Linked DNA regions of Homo sapiens: region 2 is linked to region 1. The links are contacts of gene promoters, found by promoter capture Hi-C in blood cells and fetal thymus (Javierre and others, 2016). All regions are on one chromosome and are shown on one strand. The core of a region is centred on a gene start or on the middle of the fragment in contact, and the rest is flanking DNA. Distances in the headings are between cores, read along the strand shown. Region 1 holds the start of ANKRD52 (ankyrin repeat domain 52). Region 2 overlaps SMARCC2 (SWI/SNF related BAF chromatin remodeling complex subunit C2).

Region 1 (2,943 bases), core at 193-2,692:
GCCACCCTGCCCGGCTGATTTTTGTATTTTAGTAGAGACGGGGTTTCGCTGTGTTAGCCAGGATGGTCTCGATCTCCTGACCTCGTGATCCACCCGCCTCGGACTCCCAAAGTGCTGGGATTACAGGCGTGAGCCACCGCGCCCGGCCGGGAAGGCTTTTTTGAAATGTATTTTCGCCGGGTGCGGTGGCTCACGCCGGTAATCCCAGCTCTTTGGGATGCCGTGGCAGGTGGATCACCTGAGGTCAGGAGTTCGAGACCAGCCTGACCAACATGGTGAAACCCCCGTCTCTACTAAAATAAAAAATTAGCCGGGCAGGGTGGCGGGCGCCTGTAGTCTCAGCTACTTGGTAGTCTGAGACAGGATAATCACTGAACCCGGGAGGCGGAGGTTGCAGTGAGCCGAGATCGTGCCACTGCACTCCAGCCTGGGGGACGAGAGTGAAACTCCATCTCAAAAAATAAAATAAAATGTATTTTTATTTTTTAATTTTTTTCCTCTCCCCTCAAGGGAGGATTTTTATATATAAAGCCTTGACAGGACGCCAGCATGCTGCACTTCGTCCATTTCGTGTTCTCTTCAATGTGTATTGAGTTGTGAAACTCTGAACAGGACCCTGGATCACCTTTTATAAATTGTATCAATTTTTCAATCTCCACTTTTCGTCTTCCTCCTTTTTCCGTTTCTGGGTTGAGATGACCTCCATTCATTTCTTCTCTAATTGACGGCTCTCTGGCCTCTCCATTGGAGGAGGGGAAGCGCCACAGGCTGTTCTGGGGAGAAATTGTTGAGTGTTTTCCACTTTAACCTTGCAATGGAATCAGTAAGGAGTTGGAAAATGCCCCTTCTGTTGGTCTTGGCGGCCTTTTCCAGCTGCCAGTTGTCATGGCCTCTTTGTGGGTGTTTTCTGCAGTAGAATCCTCCTTGGGGTTTCTCTGCAGTTTGAGCACTTTTGCTATTTCTTCTCTACCGAACTCACGCCTCCGCCAGTGGAGATACACGCTTTCCCTCCCTCTGGGGCTATTGCCATACATAATTCCCAGTTCTCCACCCGCCAGTTCCTCCTAGTCTGTGGGGGATTTCGGGGTGTGGAATCGCTGACGGGAGGAGTTAGCTCGGGCGGGAGCATTGTGGGCTGGGTAAGATCTGGCCAGCCGTTCGGTCCTCAGTTTGGGAAGCACCGCGGGACTAAGGCCCAGGTTTCCGCTAGGGTCTTGTGGGGAACCCCTTGGGCCGCCAGACTGGAGCGGAGAGCACAGCGCGGCCAGCTGCGTGAGCCGGGGAGCCGGCGCGCGAGTTCGGGGGTGCAGGGGCTGCTGGGGCCGCCAGGGTGGGGCGGAGGGCGCTGCGGCCGGGGTCCGTTTGCGCGGGGAGCGCCGGGACCAGGACGGCCGCCAGGGAGCGCTGCGGCCTCCAACTCGCCCGCCCCCCGGTAGGCGGGGCCGCGCTCTCCCTGCAGCCGCCACCGCAGCCGCCGCCTGGGCCGCTCCGTGTCCCCGGTGGAGCCGCCGCCGCCGCCGCCGGGAGCTCGATGCGGACGGAGCCCGGGCCGAGCCATGGGGATCCTCAGCATCACGGACCAGGTCAGCCCTCCTGCCCTTTCCCGCTTCCTCCTTCCAGGGCTCGGCGCTGCCGTCACGCGAGCCCGGGGATGTGCGGCCTAGGCTGGGCCTGAGCCCGGGGCTCCCGCAGCTCCCGCCCCGCCCCATGCCGCGCTCCCCTCAACCGAGCCGGTGTCCTTGGGGACCTGGCAACCGGCGGAGGCACCGCGGGAGCTCGCTCCAGCCAGAATCCCTAGAGTGGAGCCCCTCCACGGACGCCCCCCACTCAAACCTAGGTGCTCCCCCACCCCCACCCCCACACCGGTTCCGCTCCGGCTCCAGCCCGCTCTCAGAATGCCGGTTCTCTCTGCAGCCGCCCCTGGTCCAGGCCATCTTTAGCCGAGATGTGGAGGAAGTGCGTTCCCTACTCTCGCAGAAGGAGAACATCAATGTGCTGGTGAGTTGGGAGCAGGGAGGATGGCGAGACCGGAATCCTGGCTCCCGTGTTCTGGACCCCTCCCCACCGGTGGGGCGGCTCCGTGTCTCCTCTGCTCAGATGAGGCCGCAGTTCTTTCCATCCTGGAGTGAAAGCCTACTCTGCATTTGGGGATGGAGAGCAGGTCAGGCTTGAAGCCCAGATCACTTGGGCTGGGAATGCCCAGGAACGTTGTTCTCTTCTCAACCTCCGGAGTCTGCAGCGCCCCCACCCCTCCTGGAAAAAGGAGCCGGCTTCTCAGCCCATTGGCCCTGACTCCACCCTCCCTAGGTGCTTGCCTTTGACTCCCAATACCGGGACTTAGGACGCTGCAGAAACTATGGGAAGAGGTTGTGGGGAAGGGCCTGGAGCTCTGAGACTTGGGCTGGGGTCCTTGATAGCCCCCTTACCCCGCGCCCATACTCCCTGCTCTTTTTTGCCTTCCCAGGACCAAGAGAGGCGAACTCCATTGCATGCTGCTGCCTACGTAGGCGATGTCCCCATCCTCCAGTTGCTACTGATGTCAGGTGAAAGTGGGGAGCTGGAAGGTGTGGCACATAGGGAGCGAAGGGAGGGGAGGAGTCTTTTTTGATATTCAAGGATTGCTCTCCCCGGCTTGGTCCAGGCGAGGCTCCAGCTCCATTCAGATTTCCTGGCCTGATTACTGGCTTCCTTCATACCTCCTCCCCACCTTCCATCAAAATAGGAAATTATATCCCCACAGGTGCTAATGTCAATGCTAAGGACACACTGTGGCTGACCCCTCTTCATCGTGCTGCTGCCTCCCGAAACGAGGTATGCACCCCCACCTTCTATTACCCTTTCAAAAAGGATAAGTTGCTTAAAGGTGGGGGTTAAGGGTTAAGGAGCCTCAGTCCTCAGCCCTACAAGCTGTTCTACCCCAGGTAGTGAGGAGATCAAATCTTG
Region 2 (2,823 bases), core at 38-2,537, 80 kb after region 1:
GGGAACGTTTTAAAACACAAACATATCTAAAAAATTGAAAAATGTAAAGAATGATAAAAACAAACATGAAGAATCAGGGCGCGGTGGCTTACGCCTGTAATCCCAGCACTTTGGGAGGCCGAGGCAGGCGGATCACGAGGTCAAGAGATCAAGACCATCCTGGCTAACACGGTGAAACCCCATCTTTACGAAAAATACAAAAATTTGCCAGGCGTGGTGGTGGGCGCCTGTAATCCTAGCTATTCGGGAGGCTGAGGCAGGAGAATCACTTGAATCTGGGAGGTGGAGGTTGCAGTGAGCCGAGATCGCACCACTGCACTCCAGCCTGGGCGACAGAGCGAGACTCCGTCTCAAAAAAACAAAACAAAAAACATGAAGAGAAGTTCTGTATTCTCTCCCTGAGTTGCAGTGGATCATCTTTTGCGTCCTATGTTAGAACCCCACTTTGGAGACATTGCTCCACCAATACTGGTTTACAGTCTGTATTCTGTAGACTCACCCCAGGTATTCCAGAAGTGTATTTCAGGGGTAGGATTAGGGCTGCCACCAAGAAGAGTTCTGGCTTCTACCTCCTCATCAATCAGCTCTCTCTCTTCTCTATGTTTGCTCCTGAGCATATGTATATGAATTCAGTTGAGGAAAGTATCCTCTGCTTTCAAAAATGTTTAACACTTAACCATTCTTCCACAGAGTGATTTGGTCAGATTCAGTATCAGACCATTAAAAGCTTACAGATACATAGATGGAGATAAAGGCCTGTCAAAGACAAGAATCATTTATGAATGTACATAGAGAAATAAGTTAAATTAATTTTTGGTTGGAGAAGTGGGGAAAGTAGCAAGAAGTTTGAAGCCCTAGAATAATTGTGACTGGAGAGAATTACTATATTTTGCAATCAGGTGGAGACAATTTTTGGAGAAAGTAGGATGTCTGGAACTATTAAATTGAAGGCTTGAATTAGGCAAAATCTGTCTGATAAAATGACTCTCTGTTTTCGCAGTCAACACAAAGAAAGACTCAGAGTCGGCCCCAGTCAAAGGCGGCACCATGACCGACCTGGGTAAGACAGGAGCCTCTTGGGCACGGCAGTCAGAGCCAAGGGAAGGGGAGGGCTCAGCTGCCCCCTTTTCGCTAGCCTGATGGGCTTTTGGTAGGGCTTTCTTGCCCCTCAGGAGGCTCCAGCCTTACATCTTGGTTTTTCTCTTTCAGATGAACAGGAAGATGAAAGCATGGAGACGACGGGCAAGGTGGAGCCAGTTTAGAGAGGCCCTACCTCTCTATGTGATTCTGATTTGTGATTATAAAGTTCATTCTGCCCAAACTTTTCACTGCCCAGACTTTACCCACTGTAGACTAATTCCAGCTTTGTTCAAAACTCTGACCCTTTCAGAGTCCTGGGGCCCATGACTGCTCAGTCCCATCACCCATCTTTAGTGTCCACATTCCTGGGGTGTGGGAGAAGCAGAGGGTTGCTAGGGAGGAAGCAGGAATGCTGAGTGTCCAGCAGCCTCCATACTCGTAGGATGAGGATGAGAACAGTACGGGGAACAAGGGAGAGCAGACCAAGAATCCAGACCTGCATGAGGACAATGTGACTGAACAGACCCACCACATCATCATTCCCAGCTACGCTGCCTGGTTTGACTACAATAGGTATGGTTGTCCCCAACTTCTCACTGAGTCCTTATTTCCCTGCCTCCAGGGGTCAACAGGCTGTTCTTCTCCCTGCCTCCTCCAAATAAGTTATTTTTTCCTCACCCAAATAGACCAGAGTACACTTTAGTTTTAGGGGAGCTCCTTGTGTCCTTTTGAGTCTTACAGCCTGTGGGATGTTCTCCCCAAGCTTCTAACTTCAGCAATTTCGAGCTCTTTTCCTTCTTTGCCTTCTAGGCTTTTCCTCCCTTTGGGGCCCCCATCCCTTCACCAATGCCTTCTTCTGAAACCATTCTGGCTTTTCTTGCAGTGTTCATGCCATTGAGCGGAGGGCTCTCCCCGAGTTCTTCAACGGCAAGAACAAGTCCAAGACTCCAGAGATGTAAGGAAATCTCATCTCATGATTCTCCTTCTCCCTCCTGTCCCCACATTCACCCTTCCTGATCCAGTAACATTCAGTTTAGCAAACATTTCTTGAGCATCTTCCATGAGCCAGGCACTATGCTAGGCTTACAAAGGCACAATATCTGCCTTTAGGCAGCCCTGGCCTAGCATGTAGACACATGTTCTTTAGGATTTGCCCAAGGGTGATATTAAGCATGTTCTATACATAACAAGTACCTACTCCAGTGCCTCAACTTCTTTTTAACAGGGTATAGAGCCTTTAAATCCATATTACTGATATCGTCTATACTGCAGATATTCCTAGCACAAAAGTTTTGATTAAAGTGTAAATTACTATTACCAGGCTGGTTCCTGAGAGTAGGTTTTAATAGAAAAACAAGAGAAGGAACTAATAGAAGACCAGTTTATATAAATTAAGGGATGGAGAGGGCTCACTGGGAAAGAAGTGTAGGAGCCACGGTGGCTCACGACTGTAAATCATCCCAGCTACTTGGGACACTGAGACAGAAGGATTCCTTGAGGCCAGGAGTTCAAGAATAGCATGAGCAACATAGCAAGACTCCCATCTCTAAAGAAGTGAAAAAAAATTAGCTGGGCCTGGTGGGGCATACCTGTGGTCCCAGCTACTTCGGAAGCTGAAATGGGAAGATTGCTTGAGCCCAGGAGTTTGAGGCTGCAGTGAGCCATGATCACACCACTGCTCTCCAGCCTGGCTGACACGGCAAGACCCCGTATCTAAAAAAATTAATGAACAAGGCTGGGTGT

The links. Contacts are between HindIII fragments. The CHiCAGO score rates a contact against its expected background, and 5 or more counts as called.
Region 2: a contact is called between a fragment that was not itself captured here and the fragment with the promoter of ANKRD52 in region 1, in 2 of 17 cell types (endothelial precursors and erythroblasts). The highest score is 6.8, in endothelial precursors.

Annotation. Positions count from the first base shown.
Region 1 is chr12:56,256,883-56,259,825 of GRCh38, reverse strand. It overlaps ANKRD52 (ankyrin repeat domain 52), which reads left to right and starts at 1,442. Exons shown (of 28, transcript NM_173595.4): 1 at 1,442-1,583; 2 at 1,915-1,998; 3 at 2,465-2,543; 4 at 2,741-2,811. The coding sequence starts at 1,557. RefSeq lists silencers at 1,184-1,243, 1,254-1,803, 1,824-1,893 and enhancers at 1,954-2,003, 2,084-2,133, 2,440-2,943. The HindIII fragment of the contact is 14,479 bases long and covers 1-2,943 here.
Region 2 is chr12:56,177,234-56,180,056 of GRCh38, reverse strand. SMARCC2 (SWI/SNF related BAF chromatin remodeling complex subunit C2) reads left to right here. Exons shown (of 29, transcript NM_001330288.2): 12 at 1,001-1,060; 13 at 1,210-1,247; 14 at 1,523-1,653; 15 at 1,964-2,035. Among named protein-coding and RNA genes, the nearest start is that of SMARCC2, 11 kb to the left of the region's middle. The HindIII fragment of the contact is 1,116 bases long and covers 730-1,845 here.